Linked DNA regions of Homo sapiens: regions 1 and 2 are each linked to region 3. Evidence: promoter capture Hi-C in 16 types of primary human blood cells and fetal thymus (Javierre and others, 2016). All regions are on one chromosome and are shown on one strand. The core of a region is centred on a gene start or on the middle of the fragment in contact, and the rest is flanking DNA. Distances in the headings are between cores, read along the strand shown.

Evidence for each region. The method cuts DNA at HindIII sites, captures the fragments that hold promoters and counts their contacts. A CHiCAGO score of 5 or more calls a contact.
Region 1: a contact is called between a fragment that was not itself captured here and the fragment with the promoter of SRL in region 3, in 1 of 17 cell types (M0 macrophages). The highest score is 5.6, in M0 macrophages.
Region 2: a contact is called between a fragment that was not itself captured here and the fragment with the promoter of SRL in region 3, in 5 of 17 cell types (M0 macrophages, endothelial precursors, M1 macrophages and 2 more). The highest score is 11.7, in M0 macrophages.

The regions. Positions count from the first base shown.
Region 1 is chr16:3,950,835-3,953,945 of GRCh38, forward strand. It overlaps a transcript of ADCY9 not described here. Among named protein-coding and RNA genes, the nearest start is that of TRIDDENT, 1.9 kb to the left of the region's middle. The HindIII fragment of the contact is 695 bases long and covers 1,201-1,895 here.
Region 2 is chr16:3,973,325-3,976,714 of GRCh38, forward strand. It overlaps ADCY9 (adenylate cyclase 9), which reads right to left. Exons shown (of 11, transcript NM_001116.4): 10 at 1,345-1,386. Among named protein-coding and RNA genes, the nearest start is that of TRIDDENT, 25 kb to the left of the region's middle. The HindIII fragment of the contact is 1,166 bases long and covers 1,338-2,503 here.
Region 3 is chr16:4,240,385-4,243,350 of GRCh38, forward strand. It overlaps SRL (sarcalumenin), which reads right to left and starts at 1,696. Exons shown (of 6, transcript NM_001098814.2): 1 at 1,623-1,696. The coding sequence starts at 1,683. The HindIII fragment of the contact is 10,843 bases long and covers 114-2,966 here.

The sequences.
Region 1 (3,111 bases), core at 298-2,797, 290 kb before region 3:
GCACGCAAGGAGACGTGCACTTTCCTGGGTGACATCAGGTTCTCCGTGGGGATTTTAATCCAAATCAGATATGGCCTTGTTTTACGAGGGATCCTCTTGGGTCTCAGGGTGTGAGGATTCATAATAAGTACACGTCCATCCAGTACATGGCGAAGACCATTGTAAGCCACCCCTGGAAACACATACAAGACAGATGGGCACGCAGTTCACAGGATAGCGCAGAATTCTAATGAATTTCATTGGCATCAAATGTTATGTTCCTGTAAACTGAGAGCCATGAAATTAGAATGAGTGCCTCACAATAGTTCAAAAGTGACTCACTTCATTGAAAAAACGTCTCGGAAACATAAATTGGTAAATCAAAACTAAAACTAGTACCCTTTAAAAAAAACTGAGAATGATGTCCCTAAGTTTTTTTTTTTTTTTTTTTGAGACGGAGTTGCGCTCTTGTTGCCCAGGCTGGAGTGCAATGGCGTGATCTCGGCTCACTGCAACCTCCGCCTCTTGGGTTCAAGTGATTGTCCTGCCTCAGCCTCCCGAGTCACTGGGATTACAGGCACCCACCACCACTCCCAGCTAATTTTTGTTATTTTTAGTAAAGAGGGGGTTTCACCATGTTGGCCAGGCTGGTCTCAAACTCCTGGCCTCAAGCAGTCCTCCTGCCTTGGCTTCCCAAAGTGCTGGGATTACAGGCATGAGCCACCGTGCCCGGCTGGGATGACTATTTTAATCTCAAGAGAGCCATCTGGGTTCCTTCCAGGGCACAATTCTATTTAAGGATATACTTTCTTATTTTTACACAAGTTTGATAACTGGATAAAAAAAAGACGAACTTTTTTTTTTTTTTTTTTGCATGGACCAAAAAATGTAGCCATAAGAGCATTTGTTAATACGCACGTCTAACATCCTCCTTCCCACCTCCCTGTGCAGCACAAAGTGGTAAAGACAGCAAGAATTTTCTTTCTAAACAGTTGGGCTGAAATTAAACAACAACAACAACAAAAACCCAAATGCCCATTCTCCTCCCAGCGGAAGTACAACCTCTCTTTGTATCATGTTACTCATCCGCTGCACACACCTGTTCATCCAACAACAGCTAACAAAAGTCAGACTCCGAGTTAAGCGATGTACACATCACAGTTTGTGCTGGAAATCTGATCCAAGCACATGGACAGAACTTTCTATGGTTCTCGGCTCCTAAGCTTGGCAGCTTGTTTTCAGCGTATTCTTAAAAACCTAGGAAACTGGCAATCATACTTCTAAGTTAAAAGATTGGGAAATCAGGCCAGTGAATAAATACTTACTTTGGATCTGCACTATTGATGAAAAATAAAAAATCACTGGAAAAAAATGAGCCCCTTTCTTCTATTTTTGCTCAAAGCAGTCCAAAGAAAACAAGTTTTGGTTCACTGCTGTCTGTGAGCTCAGTGTTGAACAAATTCCAGCAAAATCACAGAGAAAGTTGGAACCAGATTTGCAGCGCTCTATCTCATACATGTTTCTTCTTCTTCTTTTTTTTTAAGAGACAGGGTCTCGCTCTGGTGCCCAGGCTGGAGTGCAATGGCACAATCACAGTTCACTGCAGCTTTGAACTCCTGGATTCAAGCGATCCTCCTGCCTCAGGCTTCTGAATAGCTGGGACCACAGGCACGCACCACCACCCCCAGGTGCCTTTTATATCATTTGTAGAGATGGGGTCTCACTATGTTGCCCAGGGTGGAGTGCAGTGGCATGATCATAGCTCACTGCAGCCTCCAACCCCTGTTGCCAAGGCTGGTTCCAAACTCCTGGGCTCAAGTGATCCTCCCACTGTGGTCTCCTAAAGCACTGGGATTATAGACGTGAACCACCACAGCTACCCCGTGGTTCTTAAAAAGGGGTCTCCTTAAAAAGGAAGCTTCACCTTCCTTTTTGGTGTGAGGGAGACAGACCGTCAGGGAGAGGGCACTTTGTTCTTCTAATTGCCTTTCTGCAGAGGTTCCTGCTCAAGGAACGGGACGCCTAAACCTCAAATCCCCAGTGGCATTCAAGGCTGCTCGCAGGCACAGGGCGTGTTCTGGCCAATCCTGTTCGAGCAAGGGGAGCTGACATTGGCCCAGCACAGGCAGGCTGCACAGAGCTGCAGCCCATTCTTCCTGGAAGCGCCTGCATCAGAGCCAAGGACAGGCCACCTAGTAGCAGTGTCCCTGGAGCCTGGTGCTTGGCTCAGTACATTAAAATGCAACAACCAGGCCGGGTACAGCAGTTCATGCCTGTAATCCCAGCATTTTGGGAGGCTGAGGTGGGCGGATCACTTGAGGTCAGGAGTTCGAGACCAGCCTGGCCAACATGGCGAAATCCCATCTCTACTAAAAATACAAAAATTAGCTGGGCGTGGTGGCCTGTGCCTATAGTCCCAGCTACTTGGGAGGCTGAGGCAGGAGAATCACTTGAACCTGGGAGGCAGAGGTTGCAGTGAGCCGAGATCGCGCCACTACACTCCAGCCTGGGCGACAGAGCGGGGCTCCATCTCAAAAAATATATACGTATTTCACAGATACAGTCCTTCCTCGTTTTGGTAATTGACAGAGCATAAGCAGTTTTTAATTTTTTCAAATTTACAATTAGGCTCCTGCACGGCAACTCTCTTCCTGTGAACTGAAGGGAAACTTGGAGTCTCCCTCTCCACAGGGTTCTCGTCTTCTGGAAAAGAGAAGATGGGAAAATGCGGATAAGAAGAGGGTTAGAGGGGAGGAAAGAAATAAAAACCGAGCAATTTCTAGAAAACATGATGATTAAAAAAAAACCATCCACGCTTTTGGAATGGACGGATTCTTTAACACCTGTGGATTTCCTTATTCTGTGACTAGCAAGCTCCCAAGCCCACAGGTAGGAAGCTTCAGCCAGTGTGTGTGGAAAAAACGCCGGTTTTGGGATACGACGGACAAGTCAGAAGCCTGCTTGAACCGCCGTCACCCCTTTGCAGCCATCCAACACCACGAACAGCAAAAACATCAGGTTCTGGCAACCTGTGGGGACAAAGTGACCATCAGCACGGGGAGGTCGCTGTCAGAGCCGCGTCACAGCTCTTACGCCTCCCAGAATGGTTTTTGGTGTGAGGATTGCTGCATG
Region 2 (3,390 bases), core at 671-3,170, 270 kb before region 3:
AGCCTCCCAAGTGGCTAGGATTACAGGTGCCCACCACCACCCCAGCTAATTTTTGTATTTTTAGTAGAGACGGGGTTTTGCCATGTTGGCCAGGCTGGTCTTGAACTCCTGATCTCAGGTGATCCACCTGCCTTGGCCTCCCAAAGTGCTGGAATTACAGGCATGAGCCAACGTGCCTGGCCTTTTTTTTCTGAGACAGAGTCTTGCTGTGACAACCAGGCTGGGGTGCAAGGACACCATCACAGCTCAATGCAGCCTCAAATTCCCGGCCTCAAGCCCACCTTAGCTTCCCGAGTAGCTGGGACTACAGGTGCATACCACCATACCTGGCTAATTTTTACAATTTTTTGCCAAAACAGGATTTCGCTATGTTGCCCAGGCTGGTCTAGAACTCCAGGCCTCAAGTAATCTTCCTGCCTTGGCCTCCCAAAGTGCTGGGATTACAGGCGGGAGTCACCGAGCCCGGTCCTTTTCTGTGTGCTTTGATTTTCTCTCCCTTCCTCTCAAATCTGTCCATCTTTTCGTTGTGGTTCTATTTATTATTTGTAAGCCTGGAAAGTTATCTCAGTTTTAGAGGCTTGAAAACTATTGAATTTTACTTTTTCTAGATTTTATATAGTTTAATTTTTATTTCCGACTCTTCAATTTATTTAGAATTTATTCTGCTGTTTATAGTAAAGCAAGGGTCAAACATTTAGTATTTTGGATTTCAAGTCAGTTATTTTATTACTTTTTGAGACACAGTCTCATTCTGTCACCCAGGCTGGAGTGCAGTGGCACAATCTTGGCTCACTGCAAGCTCCGCCTCCCGGGTTCACGCCATTCTCCCGCCTCAGCCTCCTGAGTAGCTGGGACTACAGGCGCCCGCCACCATGCCCAGCTAATTTTTTGTATTTTGTTTAGTAGAGACGGGGTTTCACCGTGTTAGCCAGGATGGTCTCCATCTCCTGACCTCGTGATCCGCCCGCCTCGGCCTCCCAAAATGCTGGGATTACAGGCGTGAGCCACCGTGCCTGGCTGATTTCAAGTCGGTTATTTTAAAATATTTTACAAAATAACTTTTTTCTTTGATTTGCGAGATTTCCTTTGTTGCATGCGAAAGTCTTACATAAAATTACATGACTGTAATGTCTTATTAAAATAATAAAACTAATTTTATTTTCCCCATTAGACATTATAACTATGATACAGTTCAACGAGGAGATATTTTCCACTTTCTATTCTAAGAATGCACGTATTGTTCCTTTTATTCAAGATCCCATTGTTTTCAGGAAGCTTCGAAATGGGCAGGGTAATACAGTCACTCTCGTTTATTCAGACAGAAGTGCAATATTAAAAGCTTACCTGAAATTCTGTACTGCGTCAAGGGGCGAAGTTAATACAGAACTGAAATTAAAATGCAGAAAAATATTATCATAAAGAGCAAAGAAGGCATTCCACAAGGCAACCTGAGAAGAGCTTGAACAAACTATGTTCCTTTTTTAGACGTGGTTGTACATCCACATAAAGCCACCTGCTCCCACCTCTTTCTTCACATCTGTGTCTCCCAATGCTGGGGGCAGTTCCCTTGGTAAAGCTGAGTTTACGTCTTTGTTTACCATCCCGCATCCTCTCTATCCTGCTGAGGCTTAGCAACCGTGATGGGATTAGGGGCTCTGAGGCCTCAAGTGGATGGAGGAGTTCTGGGCCGAGTGGAACTTCAACCATCATCCCTACCCCAGATCTGCTATTTGAACTCTGGGCACAAAGGCGGCAGAGGGGTCCCCCATCACTGTGGCTCTCCAGCTCCAGGTAGAAAAGCCCCGCAGCCATGACTAAAGGCCACGGTGAATGCCCGATGAGGGACCTGTGATGGATTTAAAAGGTAAAAAGCAGTTTGCTGGATTTCATACTCTCGAGAAAGAGCTCATCGTGACCATCGTTCTAGATGGCCATACCTTCAGAAAAATCCAAGTCTGCTTTATTTTGCTTAATCTATTCATTAAAGTTTCCTTTCAAGTACTGAATGACAGTCCTATTTTAAATTCCCTTTTTGATCTTAATTTGCAGGGAATTTAAATGTCTTTTGTATTGTGATTCTTTTCTTAAGTAAACTGAGGACGGATGCTCACACTGCCCATGGCTGGACTGTTGCTTTGCTAATAACCAAAGACACCCCGTGCCTACTCCGTCTGATACTGACAATACTGCGGCAAATAGAATCATTTTGTGCTTTTGAATGAATTCAAGCAGAGGTCCTTGGCAACAGCAATGCCACTCCAACGGGGCATTTCGGAAATGCCAGGGGTCCCTCTGGTTCTCTTAATAACTCAGGGAGCCAGAATGTTAGATCTCCTGCAAGGACAAGGAAGAAATGTCCCATGTGACTTTAAAACATTCTGCGCACCTAAACCCTCTGTAATTGTAAACAGGCGGTTCTTCAATACACACTAATAGTGAAACATTTTTATAAGCAGTTATAGGAAAAGCCCAATATTTGGGAGAAATTTATTACATGAATGGAAGCTTAATGGGTTTAAGATATCACGAAATATTTGAATAAATTGTTCACTGCTTACATTCTGTTATACAAGGTATTACTGTATTTCCAACAACACATTTAGTTGAAAAGGCTTAAAATACCCTGAAACCAGTAGCAAATGTGTAATAGGCAATTTTGAGACTTATTTTTTATTTTTATTTTTGGAGACTGAGTCTTGCTCTGTCACCCAGGCTGGAGTGCAGTGGCGCGATCTCGGTTCACTGCAACCTCCGCCTCCCAGGGTCAACCAATTCTCCTGCCTCAGCCTCCTGAGTAGCTGGGACTACAGGTGCACACCGCCATGCCTGGCTAATTTTTTGTATTTTTAGTAGAGACAGGGTTTCACCGTGTTGCCCAGGCTGTCTTGAACTCCTGAGCTCAGACAATCCACCCGCTTCAGCCTCCCAAAAGTGGTAGGATTACAGGCGTGAGCACCAAGACCGGCTGGGACTTATTTTTAACAAATCAAGAATTATTCAGTTAGTGCAACACATGAAAGATAGGGATCTTACTGGATGTCGCTAATGGCAAATATTTTAAATATAGCACCTATCACTGCCATCCTGTAAGTTTTTACATTTTTTGTAGTACAATGATGAGAACTGGGCTTGTCCCCAGAGGTCTACCGGCCTCCCTGACTCCTGTTTCTGTGTCTGCGCCATCCCATTCCTCAGCACCTACCAGTGATACGGTTCTGAAGGCCAGCGTCCTCCTCAGTATGCAGAGGATTTCAAAATAAAAGACCTATGTTCAGTGACTGGTCATTAATCCTACGTCTCATGACATCATATGGGGAACTGTTTTGACCTATTTATTATTTTTTGTTTTTGAGATGGAATCTCACTCTTGTCACCCAGGCTGGAGTGCAA
Region 3 (2,966 bases), core at 446-2,945:
GAGGAGGCCTATTCTGGGGTATACAGTCCACAGTGGGGCAGAGTCCTGATAAAATCCACCACAGTGGATGAAACCCACAGCCCAAGTGCTGAGCAGGAGCAGGGACAGAGGGAAGCTTTACGCCGGAGGTTGGGCCAGGGGCAGACGCACGCTGTGGGACCCAGGAAGGAAAGACAGCAGAGAGAAGGGACCTTTGCACAAGCACCTGCCTGCGTCCTTTCCCCACGACAAGAGCCCCCAGCGAGGCCTGCAGAACATTCCAGATGACCAGTTCCCTCGGTGGGAGGAAAGATAAAGGATGTCCCTAAAAGGCCAAAAATTCCTGGGGCCCAGTGTGTAGCAGCCCAGCAGCTGGGGCTGGGGGGCAGCACAGGAGCGGCCACGAAGGGAGAGGGTGGCAGCGGCTTGGGGCTCCGGATCCAATTACGCGGCTGTTTCCATACTTAGCCGCCTGACAGCCGCCTGGAATACTCAGCACTCAAGCCGCTGCAGCCCTGCAGAGCCCAAATTAACTCAAGGACAGACAAGGGCAGGGCCCAGCAGCACATGCAGTGGCTGGAGCCCCCCACCTTACATCTTGAGTCCCCGAGAAATAGCTTTTGTTCCCACCCACTGCCTGCTCTCCCTGCAGGGACTGTGCCCCTGCAACCCCCTATTCAACCTCAAAGACCTGAGAGGCTGGACTCTGGGCCTCTCCAGTCCCAGGTACGGACCTAGGCTCAGAGCCCAGCTTGGGGGAAGACTGCCGAGTCATGAAAAGACTCGGTGGGCAGTCCGGATCCTAGGGGGATCCCCGGAGCACCTCCCTAAAAGCATTCCCTCGGGGAACCTGGCCTCAGGAACCTTAGGAACAAGAGAGGTGGCAAAACAATCTGGCATCTCCTCCATAGCCTATAGATAACCCCCATGCTGCAACCCAAGCCACCACCTCTGCTACCCAAAGTGCTGAGATGTCAAAGGGAAGCCTCAGCACACAGAGCCAAGCCCCTTTTCTGATGGAAGCCCCCACCCCGAGCAGAGGCTCTACTCCAGAACGGGCCCCGTTCCTCTTCTGAATTGCATCCAATGCTGTTTCCAGCCCAACCGCCAACTCTATTTCCGATCTTATCCCAAACCAATTCCAATTCTATCTCACTGCTCCCAAAACGGTCCCCACCTTTGCCCACTGTATCCCCTTCTGTCCACGCAAACCCAGTTCTCTTACCCGAGTGGGGCCTCCGCCTTATATCCCACCAGGTGGGAGGGTCACCTCAACGACCTCCAGCTCCCAGACTGTGCTATTTTGTCCGTCTCAGAGGCTCCCCCGTCTCGACTTTGAGGGCCCTCTTTCCCACATCTACTGGCCAGACTCCTCTCTGACCCTGGCTCACAGCTCAGCTCTGTTTGCCGTTCCCACTTCCTCTGGCCTTCCTGAGGGCCCCGCAACTGTGCTGCTATTCTCCAGCACCCAGCTCTTTCTCTGAGGCCCCAGGCCCGGGGAAAAGAGAAGGGTAAGAAGACACCAGCCAAGAGCCAGGGTTTGCCATCAGCCCCGACCCCCTACCCAACCCATGGTAGACAGAAAACCTTGGAGGAAGCGTGGGGGACCAGTCTGGGCTGGGTCATGCTGGGAGGGGCCCTACCTGCTTGTCCTGAGAACAGGAGCGAGGCCAGGAGGCAGCCGAGCAGGACCAGCGCCCTCATGGTGACTGCCAAGAGAGCCCAGCTGCTCCTCGCCTCTATTTATACGGCCGGCCGTGGCAGCAGGCGGTGGAGGGGGGAGAGGGGTCACACAGTCACCAGGGCAACTAGGAGGGTGTGATGGGGAAGAAGCCCGGACCCCAGAAGGCTGTGCAGAGGCTCAGGCTGCGCCACTGCTGTCCCAGCTGCCAGGCCCCAGAAGGCAGGGCCGTGGCTGGATTCTCTTCCCCCGAACCCCTGCAGCCCTGGGATCACATGACATGGGTCACAGGGCGTGGGTGACAGGCATAAAATGGAGCATCCCTTGGGCTCAGGCGGTGGAGCTGGGAAGCTGAGTCTTCCCAGAACTTGCAATAACTTGACCTGAAGTCTCGGCAGGTTAAGGACCTTGACACGCCTGCACTGGAAGGAGGAAGTTGTAAGGCCACGCAAAAGAAATCCTATTTAACAGCCACTGATCCACATGCTAGAGAGTGGTCAGCTACGGCAAACCCGCAACATGTGACCTCTGAGGTCCAAGGCTGCAGCCCTGGAACAACCTTCCCAGCCTCTGGAAGAGAGAGAGCACAGACCAGAGGGAGAGGGGCACACTGAGACACAAGCTGAGGCTACGGTGTAAACTGGAGGATGGAGCAACAGATATCCATTTCCAATGGCCCAGGGGTTCCAGAACATTCAGTCACCTCTGCAAAGTGCTTTTTTGTTTATTTGTTTTTGATAGAGGATCTCGCTCTGTCACCCAGGCTGGACTGCAGTGGCACAATCATCACTCACTGCACTCGACCTCCCAGGCTCAATCAATCCTCCCAACTCAGCCTCCCAAGTAGCTAGGACAGTAGTGCCACCATGCTGTACTAATTTTTTAAAATTTTTTGTAGATGGCCCAGAGAGCCAGTTGTAAGAAGCCAAGGGAAAGCAGACACTTGCTTGTCTGGTCGGGGTACAGTGTCACTGTGTGGGGAAGAGGTAGAAGCCAGCCTTGGAGGAAAGGAACTAAATCAGGGCCAGGCACAGTGGCTCACACCTGTAATCCCAGCACTTTGGGAGGCCGAGGCGGGTGGATCACCTGAGGTCAGGAGATTGAGACCAGCCTGGCCAACATGGTGAAACCCCATCTCCACTAAAAATACAAAAATTACTGGGTGTGGTGGCGGGTGCCTATAATCCCAGCTCCTCAGGAGGCTGAGGCAGGAGAATCACTTGATCCCAGGAGGCGAAGGTTGCCATGAGCCAAGATTGCACCACTGACTCTAGCCTGGGCAACAGAGCGAGACTCTGTCTCAAAA